Regions from separate parts of the Homo sapiens genome. Here region 2 is linked to region 1. The links are contacts of gene promoters, found by promoter capture Hi-C in blood cells and fetal thymus (Javierre and others, 2016). All regions are on one chromosome and are shown on one strand. The core of a region is centred on a gene start or on the middle of the fragment in contact, and the rest is flanking DNA. Distances in the headings are between cores, read along the strand shown.

The links. Contacts are between HindIII fragments. The CHiCAGO score rates a contact against its expected background, and 5 or more counts as called.
Region 2: a contact is called between a fragment that was not itself captured here and the fragment with the promoter of MRPL9 in region 1, in 7 of 17 cell types (M1 macrophages, M2 macrophages, monocytes and 4 more). The highest score is 10.4, in M1 macrophages.

The regions. Positions count from the first base shown.
Region 1 is chr1:151,759,054-151,766,439 of GRCh38, reverse strand. It overlaps MRPL9 (mitochondrial ribosomal protein L9), which reads left to right and starts at 2,944. Exons shown (of 7, transcript NM_031420.4): 1 at 2,944-3,113; 2 at 3,294-3,450; 3 at 3,940-4,064; 4 at 4,285-4,335; 5 at 4,888-4,989; 6 at 5,541-5,624; 7 at 6,259-6,793. The coding sequence starts at 2,961. The coding sequence ends at 6,390. It also overlaps a transcript of OAZ3 not described here. RefSeq lists an enhancer at 2,794-3,173. The HindIII fragment of the contact is 8,401 bases long and covers 1-7,090 here.
Region 2 is chr1:151,566,075-151,573,460 of GRCh38, reverse strand. TUFT1 (tuftelin 1) reads right to left here. Exons shown (of 13, transcript NM_020127.3): 6 at 7,233-7,298; 7 at 3,691-3,804. Among named protein-coding and RNA genes, the nearest start is that of MIR554, 24 kb to the right of the region's middle. RefSeq lists a silencer at 4,394-4,688. The HindIII fragment of the contact is 4,792 bases long and covers 3,741-7,386 here.

The DNA of each region.
Region 1 (7,386 bases), core at 1,695-4,194:
CACCCACCCTGCTCCTCTGTGGACACTCCCCTTCCCCCAAAATCCAGCAAGTAAAGAGTTGGTATCTGACTCTTCCAAGGCTCTGATCCAGTGGTGACCTGATTAGTTGGTTCCCAGTTCATACCAGTTGAGTATTTTTATTATCATCCCTACCCTTAATAACCCAGGATCCTTGTAGGGTAGGAATTGCAAACTAATTGTCTAGGCCCCTTCAGGGGCCTAGACAGCTTATGGAAATTAGTGGAGTGGCAGGGTAGGGCTGTAGCAAAATAGGAAAGCTCACACGTTATCTAAAGGAAGTCCACACAACTCAATTCCATCCAGTTCCATGCAAGAATGCAGACTTGATGGTGCTGTATCGTATGATTTTTGAACAGAAACTGGAAAGACAGTTTTGTAGTAAATCTCACCAATTTTAAAAAATATCGACTACTGGGCCGGGCACGGTGGCTCACGTCTGTAATCCCAGCGCTTTGGGAGGCCGAGGCGGGCGGATCACGAGGTCAGGAGATCGAGACCATCCTGGCTAACACGATGAAACTCTGTCTGTACTAAAAATACAAAAAATTAGCCGGGCGTGGTGGCAGGCGCCTGTATTCCCAGCTACACGGGAGGCTGAGGCAGGAGAATGGCGTGAACCCAGGAGGCGGAGCTTGCAGTGAGCTGAGATCGTGCCACTGCACTCCAGCCTGGGCAACATAGCGAGACTCCAACTCAAAAAAAAAAAAAAATCAACTACTAAAAAATTGTTGATAAAAAAACAACATTGTAAGCAAAATTTGGTTCTGGGACTGCCACTTTGAGACCTCTGCATATTTATCCATTCAACAAATATTTATTGAGGGTCTACTATTAGCCAGGCACTATTCTAGGTGCTTGAGATGATACATCAGTGAACAAAACAAATCCCTGCCCTATGGAACGTATCTTCTAAAAGTGAGAGGACAAACCTAGAAAATAAACATAGTAAATTGTTTAGTATGTTAGAAGGTAACTGCTATGGGGTGGGGGGAATAGAGCAAGATAAAGGAAGATAAGGAATGTGAAGGGGATGGGTCAGGGTTACAGTAAGAAATAGGGTGATCTCTCACTGAAAAAAACTGACATTTAATTAAACACTTGGAGGATGTGAGGTTGTTAACCAAGCCAGCATCTGAGGATAAGAGCATCCAACGCAAAAGCAGCCAGTGCAAAAGCCCTGAGCAGGAAACGTGCCTGGTGTTTTCAAGAAACAAGGAGGCCACTGTGGGTGGAGCAGTGTAAATTAGAGAGGAGCTAATGGGGTCAGAGTATGTATGGCCTTGTAGACCATCTGATGGCCTTTTTCTTTTACCTTGAGTAAAGGAGGAAGTCATTACAAAGTTTTGGGTGGAAGAATGACATGATCTGACTTATGCTTTAAAAAGATCATTCTGGCTGCTATAAATAAGCTACATAGAATTATAAACTGTAGAGAATTAAGGGATATCTTTTAGGGGACTATTGCAGTAATCCAGGAGAAAGTAGTGTCTTATTCCAAGGTAGAGCATTGGAGGTGGTGACAAGTGGCTGGATTCTGGAAATACAAGTGCTCCTTGACTTAAAATAGGGTTATGTCCTGATAAACCCATCGTATGTTGAAAGTATCATAAGTTGAAAATGCATATAATACACCTACCAAACACCATAGCTTAGCCTAGCCTATCTTAAACATGCTCAGACAACTTATCCGACAGTTGGGTAAAATCATCTAACACAAAGCCTATTTTATAATAAAGTGTTGAATATTTCATGTAACTTATTGATGTCCTACTGAGTGCACATCACTTTCACACCATCACAAACTCAAAAATTGTAAATCCAAGTCAGGGACTATCTGTAATTTAAAGGTAGAACCCACAGGATTTCCTGATGGAGTATGAGAGAAAAGAGTTAGAATGGAAAGAATGGAGTTTCTGTCAACTGAGAGGAAAAAGGCTGCAGATGGGGCAGTTTTGGGGGCGAGGGGGGAATAAATAAATTAGTTTGGGACAGTTAACTTTGAGGTGTCCTTTGGATACGTAAGAGGAAAATGACGAATAAACAGTTGAATATTTGAGACGAGTTTGGGAGATGTCTAGGATGGAACTAGAAATTTGGGAGTCATTGGCTTATAAATGGTATTGTAAGCCACGAGACTGGATGAGATCAACAGTGAGTGTATACTGAGAAGAGTAAAGGTTCAAAAACGGAGTCCCGAGGGCATTCTAAGAAGCGGGGAGAAAAGGAGAAATCAGCAAACGAGACTGAAGAAGACCGGTGTCCAGGAGGCCAAGTAGTGTATTTAGGAGGAAGGAGGACTGGTCAGTATGTTTAAGGGCCAGTCTTTCCATAATCTCTGCCAAATGGACCTTCTTTCATCCAGTTTTTATGGTCTTCTGTCCAGTACTGAGACCCTCCCCAGAGGGAACTGTCGCGGCCTTACCATAGTTGCTTTTTTTTCTACGGTTTACATAGCTTGTGATTTAGAATTCTCCTTTATTAGCTTAAATACTGCAGTATAATGATTAAGGGTCAGGCTCCTCCTGGAGCTGGCAGAGTTTTCCAAGGGATCCCATCCTTTACCACTTTTAGGTAGATTTGAAGTAAGGAAAAGTGAGAGCATCATTCATTCTCCGGTCAGTATCCAGTCATCACAGAACGTTAGAATTAAAAGTTAGCCCAGCAACTGGAGCTACAGCAAAGCCCACACTTTCAAGAGGAAGAGCGTCTTTTCCGGCGTCAGTCCACCTAACACTCATTCCATTATCAGTCAGTAATTCTAGGCGTCCGTCACCTCTGCCAAAAAGCAAAAATAGGCAAGCCGCGGTGCCATCTGTTCCCCGGCCCGCTCCCCATACTTTCGCTCAGCCGTACCGGCGCGCCGCAGGCAGCACTGGCGGGGGCCTTTCCTGCCGCCGACGCCGGGGTCCTCCCTCAGGTCTCATTCTGTGCCTGTGAACATGGCGGCGCCCGTTGTCACGGCCCCGGGCAGAGCTCTGCTGCGGGCGGGCGCTGGACGGCTGCTTCGGGGAGGCGTCCAGGAGCTACTGCGGCCGCGACATGAAGGGAACGCCCCTGACCTGGCCTGCAACTTCAGCCTTTCTCAAAATCGGGTGAGGGCTGAGTCTGGGGTAGGGGGTAGATACGCTCGAGTATTGTTTCTGGAGGCGCACTGGGACCTGGAGGGGGCCGATGTGGGGGTGGCGGGCTTTCCTTGAGGGGCTGGCGGCCGTGGTGGAGGGAGAGGGTGTTCCTTGTGGAGACTAGCTTACCGTCGCTTTCCTGGCCGCCAGGGCACGGTCATCGTGGAGCGCTGGTGGAAGGTACCGCTGGCCGGGGAGGGCCGGAAGCCGCGCCTGCACCGGCGACATCGCGTCTATAAGCTGGTGGAGGACACGAAGCATCGGCCCAAAGAAAACCTGGAGCTCATCCTGACGCAGTCGGTGGAGAGTAAGGCCCGGGCCGAGGCGCTTCCTCTCAGGCTGGTCCGGTTTGGCATCAGCTTTTTCTAGCCCGTCCCCCTCAACTATTTGCCTTGCTTTTTCTTTGTGGAAACAATCCAACTCTATATGTGAGAAGAGGAAGCCATAAAAACTATTGTGATTGTGACACTGGCCTCCAGCATTGAAAATTAAAACATAAAGGCAGCAACATCATTAACAGTGTGTGGGGAGAGGAGCCTGACAATTTGTGCCACAGATACTGAAATCCTCCATGGGACGACAACTCCCTCTATACAGGGGATATTAAATTTATACATCAAGTTCTAAAGAAACTAATTAGCAGTCTCTTAAATCTTGTTCCTAGTGAATATGAATTAGCATTTCTTTTAGGAAAAATAAGCACTGTGAGAAACTAAGAGGTGCTTCTCTTTTTGACATCTTTTCTTTAGGGACTCCTAGATGGTTCTAATTCCCCTGTCTCTGTTCTAATTGACAGATGTTGGAGTCCGGGGTGACCTGGTCTCAGTGAAGAAATCTTTAGGCCGGAATCGACTCCTTCCTCAGGGACTGGCTGTATATGCATCCCCTGAAAACAAGAAGCTGTTTGAAGAGGAGAAATTGGTGAGCTCAAAGGAAGGACAGAGAGACTTGGGGAGATAAAACTTCTTTTCTCTTGCAGCTTCCTTCCCTTTGACATTTAACTTAACTTGAAAATGAAATAGGAACTAGAAGAACAGGAATGCAGAAGCCCAGCCAATGTCCAACATAGGAATAGTTTGATGCTATTTAACATGGGCTCATTTTTCTTTTACTGCTTTTCATCTTTAACTTTCTTTTCTAGCTGAGACAAGAAGGAAAATTAGAGAAGATCCAGACCAAGGCAGGTGAGGCGGTGAGTAGAAACATAAAAAGTGTTTATTTGTCACAAGACTTACCAACCTCACCCTGAGAGTCTCCCTGATTCCCTTGAGGTCTCCTGATTGCAGACCCAAGAGTGGGAGAAAGGGGAAGTGTTGTGGCTGCCCCACAAAACAGGTATGGAGACCTCTTGGGAGATCCCTGATGTGTTGGGTGAAGTGCCTTAAAGTACCAAGGGAGGTCCCAATCTGGGAATCAGGGAACCCATGGAATAGTCTGAGATGAGGGCTCTGCCTTCAAGGATATTTACGTACAAGTTGGAGAGAACATGGACACATGAGAAGATAATCAGTACAGGCACCCGCCACCATGCCCGGCTAACTGTTGTATTTTTGGTAGAGACAGGGTTTCGCCATGTTGGCCAGGCTGGTTTCAAACTCCTGGGCTGAAGTGACCCACTTTGGGAGACCCACCTTGGCCTCCCAAAGTGCTGGGATTACAGGCATGAGCCATCTTGCTTGGCTTGCATACCCTGTGACCCTGACATGTTTCCTCTCCTTTGACTCAAACTCATAATTCCTTTCAGACAGTGAAATTTCTAAAAAGCTGTCGCCTGGAGGTAGGGATGAAGAACAATGTCAAATGGGAGCTGAACCCTGAAATAGTTGCCCGCCACTTCTTTAAGAATGTGAGTGAGTGTTCCCAAAAACCACTCTACCCCTGAGGTGGAAGCTGCCTCTGGAAAGGAGGCCTGGGATTGATCCCTTTGTTAGGAAGGGGTGTGATCATCCAGTTGTAGTTAAGGAAAGTATTCTTGGTTAGTTTGCAGGAATATGGGAAGGAAATGGCTAAGGACTAAGGATGGTCACATAGAATTTGAAGACTGATAGGAAAAGGTGGTGGTTTCCATTTATTTCCTGTCTACCTAGGGAAATGCTGGGGATTTGTGACTCACTGGAGAATTGTTACTTTTGTGGATGAAGTGGTTTTGGCCTCAAGCCCTGTTTCTCTTTGTGAATCTACCTCCCTTTCTGAGAAATCAGAATTGAATTTCTCTACTACCGTCTATGAAGGTGTATGCCCTTCTCTCCCATGGAATCAGCCAGAGTAGACACCCCAGTTTTATTCATCCCTGTGCAGGGAATCCTGTAACCCTCTTTATGAGGTTCCCTAGAGTGGCAGTCATGAAAACAGAGTTCATTTGAGCTGAGATTTTTTTTTTTTTTTTTTTTTTTGCAGCTTGGTGTTGTGGTTGCCCCACATACATTAAAGTTACCAGAAGAGCCTATCACACGGTGGGGCGAGTATTGGTGTGAGGTGACGGTGAGTGTTTTGCATACTTTCTTTTTTCTTTTCTTTCTCCTTTTCCCCCACTTTTTCCTTTTTTTCCTTTCTCTTAAAGACAGGGTTTTGTTTCATTGCCCAGGCTGGATTCAAACTCCTGGGTTCAAGCGATCCTCCCACCTCAGCCTCCCAAGTAGCTAGGACTACAGGCGTTAGCCACCGCACCTAGCACCTACCTCTCCCTTTTTTCTAATTTTTTTTTTTTTTTTTTTTTTTTTGAGCTGGAGTCTCACTCTGTTGCCCAGACTGGAGTGCAGTGGCACGATCTCAGCTCACTGCAACCTCCACCTCCCAGGTTCAAGCGATCCTTCTGCCTCAGTCCCCCTAGTAGCTGGGATTACAGGCACACGCCACCGTGCCTGGCTAATTTTTGTATTTTAGTAGAGACAGGGTTTCCCCATGTTGGCCAGGCTGGTCTCAAACTCCTGACCTCAGGTGATCCACCTGCCTCAGCCTCCCAAAGTGCTGGGATTACAGGCATAAGCCACTGTGCCCAGCCCTAGCTCTCCTTTTTCTGACTGGGAGAAAAGTCAGGGTGAAAAGCTGGGATTAGGTGGTGCTAAATCTTACTTACCTGACTGATCTCTGAGAATTCCCATTGTTTTGTGTGCAGGTAAATGGGCTTGATACTGTGAGAGTGCCTATGTCTGTCGTGAACTTTGAGAAGCCCAAGACCAAAAGATATAAGTACTGGTTAGCCCAGCAAGCTGCCAAGGCTATGGCCCCCACCAGCCCCCAGATCTAAATCTACTCTCCCTCCAAGGCAGCAAAGCAGAATCGGGAGCAGTGGAGCAGAAATGTGCAAGCACCCTGATCTCACTCCCAGCTCTGACCAAATACAGAATTTTAGAGAACATCTGAAGACATCAGACTGCACTGCGTATACATGTTGAATTCTTCATTTTTGCCATCTTTAACTGTCATCACTGGGGCAGGGAAGTCCTGTTCCAGAAGTACCAGGCTGTAGATTTGATAAGCTAGATGCAGTAGACCGAAACCATCCAAAACCTGTTTAGCTTCTTCCTCCATTGGAGTTTATTGGGACAAACAGGAGAGCCAGCCATTGTCTCCAGTACTTGCCTCATTCTCATCATCCAAACTGAACATTTGTATCCCAAGCAGAAATAAAGAGAATATGTTCTTTTTAAGTAAGTGTTGCTTACTGGTCTTGAGTAGATGAGACAGGACATCCAACTGAGATTTCCTTGAGTCACAGAGGTTTGCTGCTAAAAAGGAAAGAAGAGAATATCTTAGACTGCATCCCACAGTTACTGTGGTATGAACAAATTGTGCTGAACAAGTTGATGATGTGTTTGGTCTTAACACTTACTCTTCTTAGATACATTGATGTAGTCATCAATGTGAATAAGCACAATGGATTCTGCTTCTCTAAGACCTGAGTAAGGCCTAAGGGTAATTGTTGGAAAGCTGGGATGAAAGAAGCTTAAAAAGGGAACTTTTTTCCTTGAACCAGCTCCTGAAATTCTGAAAAAGAAGTTACCTTAATTTTCTAGACCAAGATTAAGATAGGGAGCTAGTCAAAAGGTAACTCTGGAATGGATGAATGGATGTCTTGATGGGAGATAAACGAAAGTAGATAGTTTTTTCCTTTTTCTTTTTCTTTTTTTTTTTTTTTTTTGAGACAGAGTCTTGCTCTGTCACCCAGGCTGGAGTGCAGTGGCATAATCTCAGCTCACTGCACCTCCGCCTCCCTGGTTCAAGTGATTCTCCTGCCTCAGCC
Region 2 (7,386 bases), core at 4,887-7,386, 200 kb after region 1:
GAAACCAATTTAGAGGATAGAAGCAGAATGTTAGAATGAGAAAGCAAAGAACTTGCCTCCTTTCTTCCAACTTGCATCTTTCCAACTCCTACTCATCCTCCAGGTCTCACTTAGATGCCCCTTCTTCCAGAGAGCCTTCAGAGCCTGGGGGAGGAGCCCTTCCTTTGTGTGTCCAGGGAGAGGACATACAAGGAACACACGGCCTTCCCTCTCATAGCATTGAACAGATTTTGCCCAGTCACTCTGTGCACCCCGAAGTAGACTGTCAGTGTCCTGATGGCACAGACCTGAGCACCATTACACTTCCAGAGCTCCCACAGTACCTCATATGCAGTAACTACTCAATAAAATAATGAGTGGAACTGACGTTCTTCTAATCCAACCCTCTCCTTTAACAAGTAAAGGTCAACTGACCTAGTCAAGGTTACACAGCTAGTGAATGACAGCCAGTGCTAGCACCCAGATACTTCACCATCCATTTCAGTGCTTCCCAGGTGCCTCACACTGACTGCTCATCATTTATTAAAAAAGAATCCAGGTAACTTCTGGAAAGCCTAGCAGCCAGCCCTGGGAAAACAGAACATCAGCAGCCAGTTCGTCCAGCCCCTCCCAAGGTCAGAACTGGGGAGGAGAAAGTACGGCACAGGTGATGTGTGATGGGACGTGTCCATGCTACACACCAGCCATGTCCAGAGCAAACTCACTCTCACTGCAAATCCTTCTTGACAGCAAGCAGCCAGTAGAACAGGAAACCCATGCTTAATGGCAAGTTATTTTCATGGTAATTGATCATCTTGCCTTTCCTACCCATAGGTTCAGAAAAGTAGACCAAGGAGTCCAATTCACTAGGAGAGACTGAGACAAGCCTTCATATGACCCATATTAACCTGAAATAGGCCATCCCCATAGGCAGGAACTTAAAAGTAAGGCCTTTTAAAAAAATTTTATTTATGTACATTTATTTATGTTTATTTATGTACATTTCTGTACATAAATAAACACTGCACCTAGGTTGATGTGAGCTCAAGCACAGTGTTAATAAGGCCATGGTCTGATTCTTGCACCCCACTGTCGGAGCAAAAGGTTAAAAAAAATAGACTCCCCTTCCACATTTGACTCTGTAGCTCCAGCCAACCCTGCCCGCAAGGGAACCTCTTAATTATAAAAAGGTGTGCCAACCTAGCCCAACAGTGGGAATGACCCGAGGAGCACCTCCTTTTTTAAAAAAAAAATTATTTATGTACCATATTTATTATTTTTTAGACAAAGTCTCAATCTGTTGCCCAGGCTAGAGTGCAGTGGCACAATCATAGCTCACTGCAGCCTCCACCTCCTGGGCTCCAAAAATTCTCCCACCTCAGCCTTCCAAGTAGCTGGAACCACAGGCATGCTCCACCACACCAGGCTAATTTTTTTATTTTTGTAGAGATGAGATCTATGCTGGCCAGGCTGGTCTCAAACTCCTGGGCTCAAGGATCCTCCTGCCTTGGCCTCCTGAGGCCTCCTGAGGCCTCCTGGCTCACAGGTGTGAGCCACAGCGCCCAGCAAGAAGAAGCATCTCCTACTGCTGCAGGTGGTCCTGCATACTATGGGGTTAAGAAAAATAACCCCTTCTAAATTCTGGGCAGTGGGCTATAGCTGTCAGGGCACTTTTGCTCAGGCTCTGAAATCCAGAGCGGCAGACTCCTCCATGTGTGATTAAAACCAGCAAATATTTCTATAATTTCCACAACTTCATAATGTCTCTCAGTGCAGAAATTTTTTTCCAAAATTCACAACCTGGTCAGTGCTAGAGCCTCAACCTTCCTTTCTTCCTGTTTTGTTTGGAAAAGGTAGGAAACTGCTGGTCACCAACTGATACATCACCAACTAAATTATACAAATTGTGGAATCTGAAATAGATGCAACATACCTCTTCACCACACAGCTACTTTGTTCTGAGATGACAAACTAATTTTAATATTACCCTAAGTCCAAGCTATTAAAATAGGAAAATCTCCTTGTTAAACTGATTGCTAAGAAAAATATAGACTATTTTATATTTCTAAAACCCTTCAGAATAATAAAGTGCCCTCACATATATTACCTCACTCGATCTACACAACAAACTTGTAAGGTGTATTTCATTAACCCTTTTTCCAAAAGTTGAAACAGATGCTTGGAGAGGTTAAACTACTTGTTCAAATAATACTTCGGCTAACATAGAAGCAGTTTATCATCCTTGGTGCCCTTCCTCCTCACCGCCAAGCCTCTTCTCAAAAATTCTCCTTCTCAGTTCCATGAAAATGAAGAGTTCAAGCTGGCCTTTCTCTTTTTACCAGCTCCTAGCATGCCTAGGCAGGCTATAACCCTATCATAACATATTTATAACACAAAGAATACATTACTTGTGGAAGAACAAAAGCAGGTAACAGATGGTTAACCTCACACAGAGCAGTTGGAAAACTGCCCATGGGCCAGGTGTGGTGGCTCATGCCTGTAATCCCCACATTTTGGGAGGCTAAGGCACGCAGACTGCTTGAGCCTTGGAGTTTGAGACCAGCCTGGGCAACATGGCAAGACCCTGTCTCTACAAAAAACACAAAAATTAGCCAGGCATGGTGGTGTGCACCTGTTGTCCCAGCTACTCAGGAGGCTGAAGTGGGAGATGGCTTGAGTCCGGGAGATGGAGGTTGCATTGAGCCAAGATCATGCCACTGCACTCAAGCCTGGCAATAGAGTGAGACCCTGTCTCCAAAGACAGAAAGAAAACTGCCCATGTACCTTGTTTTATACTCAAAGAATTTTCTAGAAAATATGGAAGACCTCACATATAGTAGGGGGCTTTTACTCTCCATTTATAGATTTCTGTATTATAACAATAATTAATATACTCATTCCAGGCCGGGCATGGTGGCTCGTGCCTGTAATCCCAGCACTTTGGGAGGCTGAGGCAGGTGGATCACAAGGTCAGGAGATCGAGACCATCCTGGCCAACATGGTGAAACCCCGTCTCTTCTAAAAACACAAAAATTAGTTGGGCATGGTGGCGCATGCCTGTAGTACCAGCTACTCGGGAGGCTGAGGCAGGAGAATTGCTTGAATCCGGGAGGCAGAAGTTGCAGTGAGCCAAGATTGCGCCACTGCACTCCAGCTTGGCAGCAGAGTGAAAAAAAGATACTCATTCCAGACCACAAAGCTCTGCATAGCAAAGCTGAGTTTAGAGCCCAAATCCTCCAACTCGATGGGTACAGTTCTTTCTACAACAACACAGATTTAGTCACTCATCCAGTCCACGTTTATGAAGCACCTATCTAATACCAGGTATTGCACCAGACACTGGAGACTCGGGGGTGACATGTCAGCAGCAGTCCTTGCCTGCACGGAGTCTCAAGAGCCCAGGGATTCTTACCACGACACAGACAGAAATGACTTCTGAATCACCGGCTGCCCCAGATGGGCACCACCCTCAAACTCATCAGAGCAGAGAATCCCGAGCTGACCTTTGAACTATGGGCTGGCCTTGGACAGTAAACAGTGTAAACGTCCAGGAGAGGGAAAAGCAGACAAGCGTTCCAGGCTTCACAGCCTTGCCTTTCCAGTTTGTGGCACTCAGCCAGAAAGACAGGAAGTCCAAGCTGAGACATCACTGGCACCTGTGTTCAGTAGCCCATCCCTTAGGGCACCTTCTCCCCAAATCCCAAATCTCACCTCAAAAGCCACACAGTCTGACTGGTGTTGCCGCTTGGCCTCCTGAAGCTTGGCCAGCAAGTCCTGCACCGTCTTCCTCAAGCTCTCAACATCCTCATTTATACAGGTGTCCACCTACAGCCAGAACAAGGAAGGGAAGGGGAAGCCCTCAAGTTTCTGACTCAGTAAGAAAAGGTCCCCCCTCCCAGGCACACACTGGTTTGGACCATCTCGTCCAGACCACCCTCAAAAAAGAACTGTCATCACACAAGGGGAGAGTTACCTTAGGCAGCCAGGAATTCTGAGTTATTCAATGAAACATTGTCCCTTCATACCCTAAAGAACCCTGCTAGCCTCAAAACACCCAATTATTTTAGGACATGCTCAGTAATATTTCATGTATGTATCCACTAATCGATTTCTTGGTGAATATGTGGATGCTGTCTGTAGGTGTGCATCCTGCTTCCCTCTATCTGCCTACAGCTCTCTGAGAGCAGAGACCATGTTCCCCTTTGGACTAGAGTTCCCACAGGACAGGGACTATGTCGCGCCCATCACAAAGGGAGTGGTCCAAAAGCACATCCTTTACCATTCTCAGCTTTTGGCACTGACAGCAGCATATAAAGGGTTACTGATGGATGGACAGGTTTAGGGCAAAAGCATGCAATGAGTCCACGAATCTGATTCGATGTGGAAAAAGGTGTCTCATCGAGGTAACTGCTCAGTCTCTCCCAGACACACCCAACTGTGGGCTGGTGGTTAGAGATGAGCTAACATGTAGGGTCTCACCCCCGTCTCTGCTGCACAGGCACCAGACACTGGAGGAAGACAGTGTCCCAGTCTCTGCATCATCATCCTGTGGGTGATAATGAAGAAGTGAAGTCCTGTGGGCCTTCATTTCTTTATCTGTGAGGCAGTCAGTACACTCCCTACCACACCCTGCCTTACAGGCTGCCTCAAAACTAGGTAAGATAACATCCGGTACAGCTTTGAGCTTGTGAGAAGAAAGAGGCCAAACAGATATTACCAGGTGTTATTATAATTTGTTGCCAACAATGTATTTGCCAAATATGGTGATTCAAAAGAAGGAGAAAGTCCAAGCTGCCCATCTAAAGCAAGTGGTTAGAATCACAGCATTCCAAATCTAGATGTCATGAGTTATCCAGTCAATTTCCCTAAATCCTCACCTGAGCCAATGGCCTTTAAAAGGTTCCTGGAACACAGCTATTATGCACTTATTTCAAAGAGTGTTCTCATAAGACTGTTTAATGACATGGAAAACTTTCATGAAAATATTATTTCATCATATGATATAACATGAAGCAAAAAAGTAAGTTATAAAAGTACATGTAGGAGGCAGAAGCAATGAACTAGATTTTAATACAGCAATGTAGATAGATCCTAAAAAACACGGTACCAGGGAAAACAAGAACAAAGAGGGAAGAAGATATAGCACAAGTTCATCATGTATACTGAACATTTTACAGGCATATTTAAAGCCATATATTGAATTCATTAGAGTGAGTTTCTCTTGCAGGAGGTGGAGAGGCAAAAAAAACAAAAAACAAAAAACTGAAACCAGTGAGAGGCCTTGACAGGACCCATGAGGATGATGTGTCATGAACTAATGGGTGGGTCTGATTCAACCTATACTTGAGGGCCAAAAACACCGAATGCAAAAACATACCCAACTAAAGAAACAAAAAAAAAATTATAAAGAAATGCTACATACTGTACAATGTATTCACATGGTAAATATATATTTGCATTCGGGGAAAGATGAAATTTCACTGTGGTTTTTCTCTGAGTAGATTACAAGTGATATTTGTTTCTTCTTTCACTTTCCTGTGTTTCTGAATTTTCCAAATTTTCTACAATATGAATGTTTTGTATTGTATAATCACAAAAAAACATAATAACACACTTTTTAAAAATACAGTAATGGTGGCGGGGTGCAGTGGCTCACGCCTGTAATCCTAACACTTTGGGAGGCCAAGGTGGGAGGATCACCTGAGGTCAGGAGTTCGAGACCAGCTTGGCCAACATGGTGAAACCCCATCTCTACTAAAAATACAAAAATTAGCCAGGCGTGGTGGCTCACGCCAGTAGTCCCAGCTACTCAGTACGCTGAGGCACGAGAATTGCTTGAACCCAGGAGGTGGAGGTTGCAGCGAGCCAAGATCATACCACTGCACTGTACCCTGGGTGACAGAGCGAGACTCCATCTCAAAAAATAACAAATAAAGTACAGTCATGGAGGCCAAGCATAGTAGCTCATGACTATAATCCCAAAACTTTGGGAGGCCGAGGTGGGCAGATCACTTAAGCCCAGGAGTTTGAGATGAGCCTGGGAAACATGATGAGACCCTGTCTTTACAAAAAATACAAAAATTAGCCAGGTGTGGTGGCACGTGTCTATAGTCCCAGCCACTATAGTGGCTGCCACAGTCCCTCCCAGGCTGAGGCAGGAGGACTACCTGAGCCCAAGAGGTTGAGAATATAATGAGCCATGACTGCACCACTGCACTCCAGCTCAGATGACATAGGGAGACCCTGTCCCAAAAAATAATAATTATAAAAATTTAAAAAGTAGGCTAGGCACAGTGGCTCATGCCTATAATCCCAGCACTCTGGGAGGCGAGGCAAGCAGATCACTTGAGCCCAAGAATTCAAGAGCAGCCTGGGCAACCCCATCTCTACAAAAATTAGCCAGGCATAATGGCGCGTGCCCTATAGTCCCAGCTATTGGGTAGGCTGAGGTGGGAGGATTGCTTGAACCCCGGGGGTCGAGGCTGCAGTGAGCCATGATTGCCACTGCACTCCAGCCTGGGTGACAGGGTGAGACTCTGTCAGTCAGTCAATCAATCAATCAATCAGTCAATCAATCAAGTACAGCCATGGAAGGAAATACTATGTAGTTATTCAAAAGAATGAGGTAGATCTATATGTACTGACATGGAAAGAAGGTTATAATATACTCTTTAGTTAAGAAAAAAAAAGCAAGCAAAGAATAATGTATTTACCATGATCTTATAGTTGAGAAAAGCACATGTATATTATATACATATATTTATCATGTATATATGGTGTGTATATAACATATACATGATATTTAAATATGGTTGTCTATGTATATAAAAATATTCTAGAATACTGGCACTCAACTTTAGCTAAACATTAGTATCACCTGAAGAGCTCTTAAAAGTCCTGATGCCCAGGCCACCTATTGGAACAATGAAATGACAAGCTCTAGGGATGGGACCCAGGCATCATATCCTTTAACGCTTGCAAGGCCATTCCAATGAACAGCTGAGGCTGAGAAGCACTGCCCTAGAAAGATCCACCCACTTCAATCTGTTAACAGTGGATACTCGCAAGGAGAGAGATTGGGGAAGGAGAATTTCTACTCTTTGTATTTCTCTGTGTTTGAATTTTTATGTCAACTACTACTCTTGTATTTAATGAGAGAGAGAGAGAGAGAGAAAGCAATAAACAAAAGGATGGGGAGGAGGCAATCCTGCCCCTGGCTAAGCGGAGCCACCATGGTGTCCTCTGTTACCTACCTCAGGTGGGCTGCTGTACAGGGCTGTGGGACTCTGACTAAAGCCATTTGGCTTTTCTAGCACCACCTGTTCAAAGAAAAATAAAATTGGTAGTTAAAACAGATGAAAGCAACCAACTTTGAAACATTATTCTCCTAACACTCAAATCTTAGAA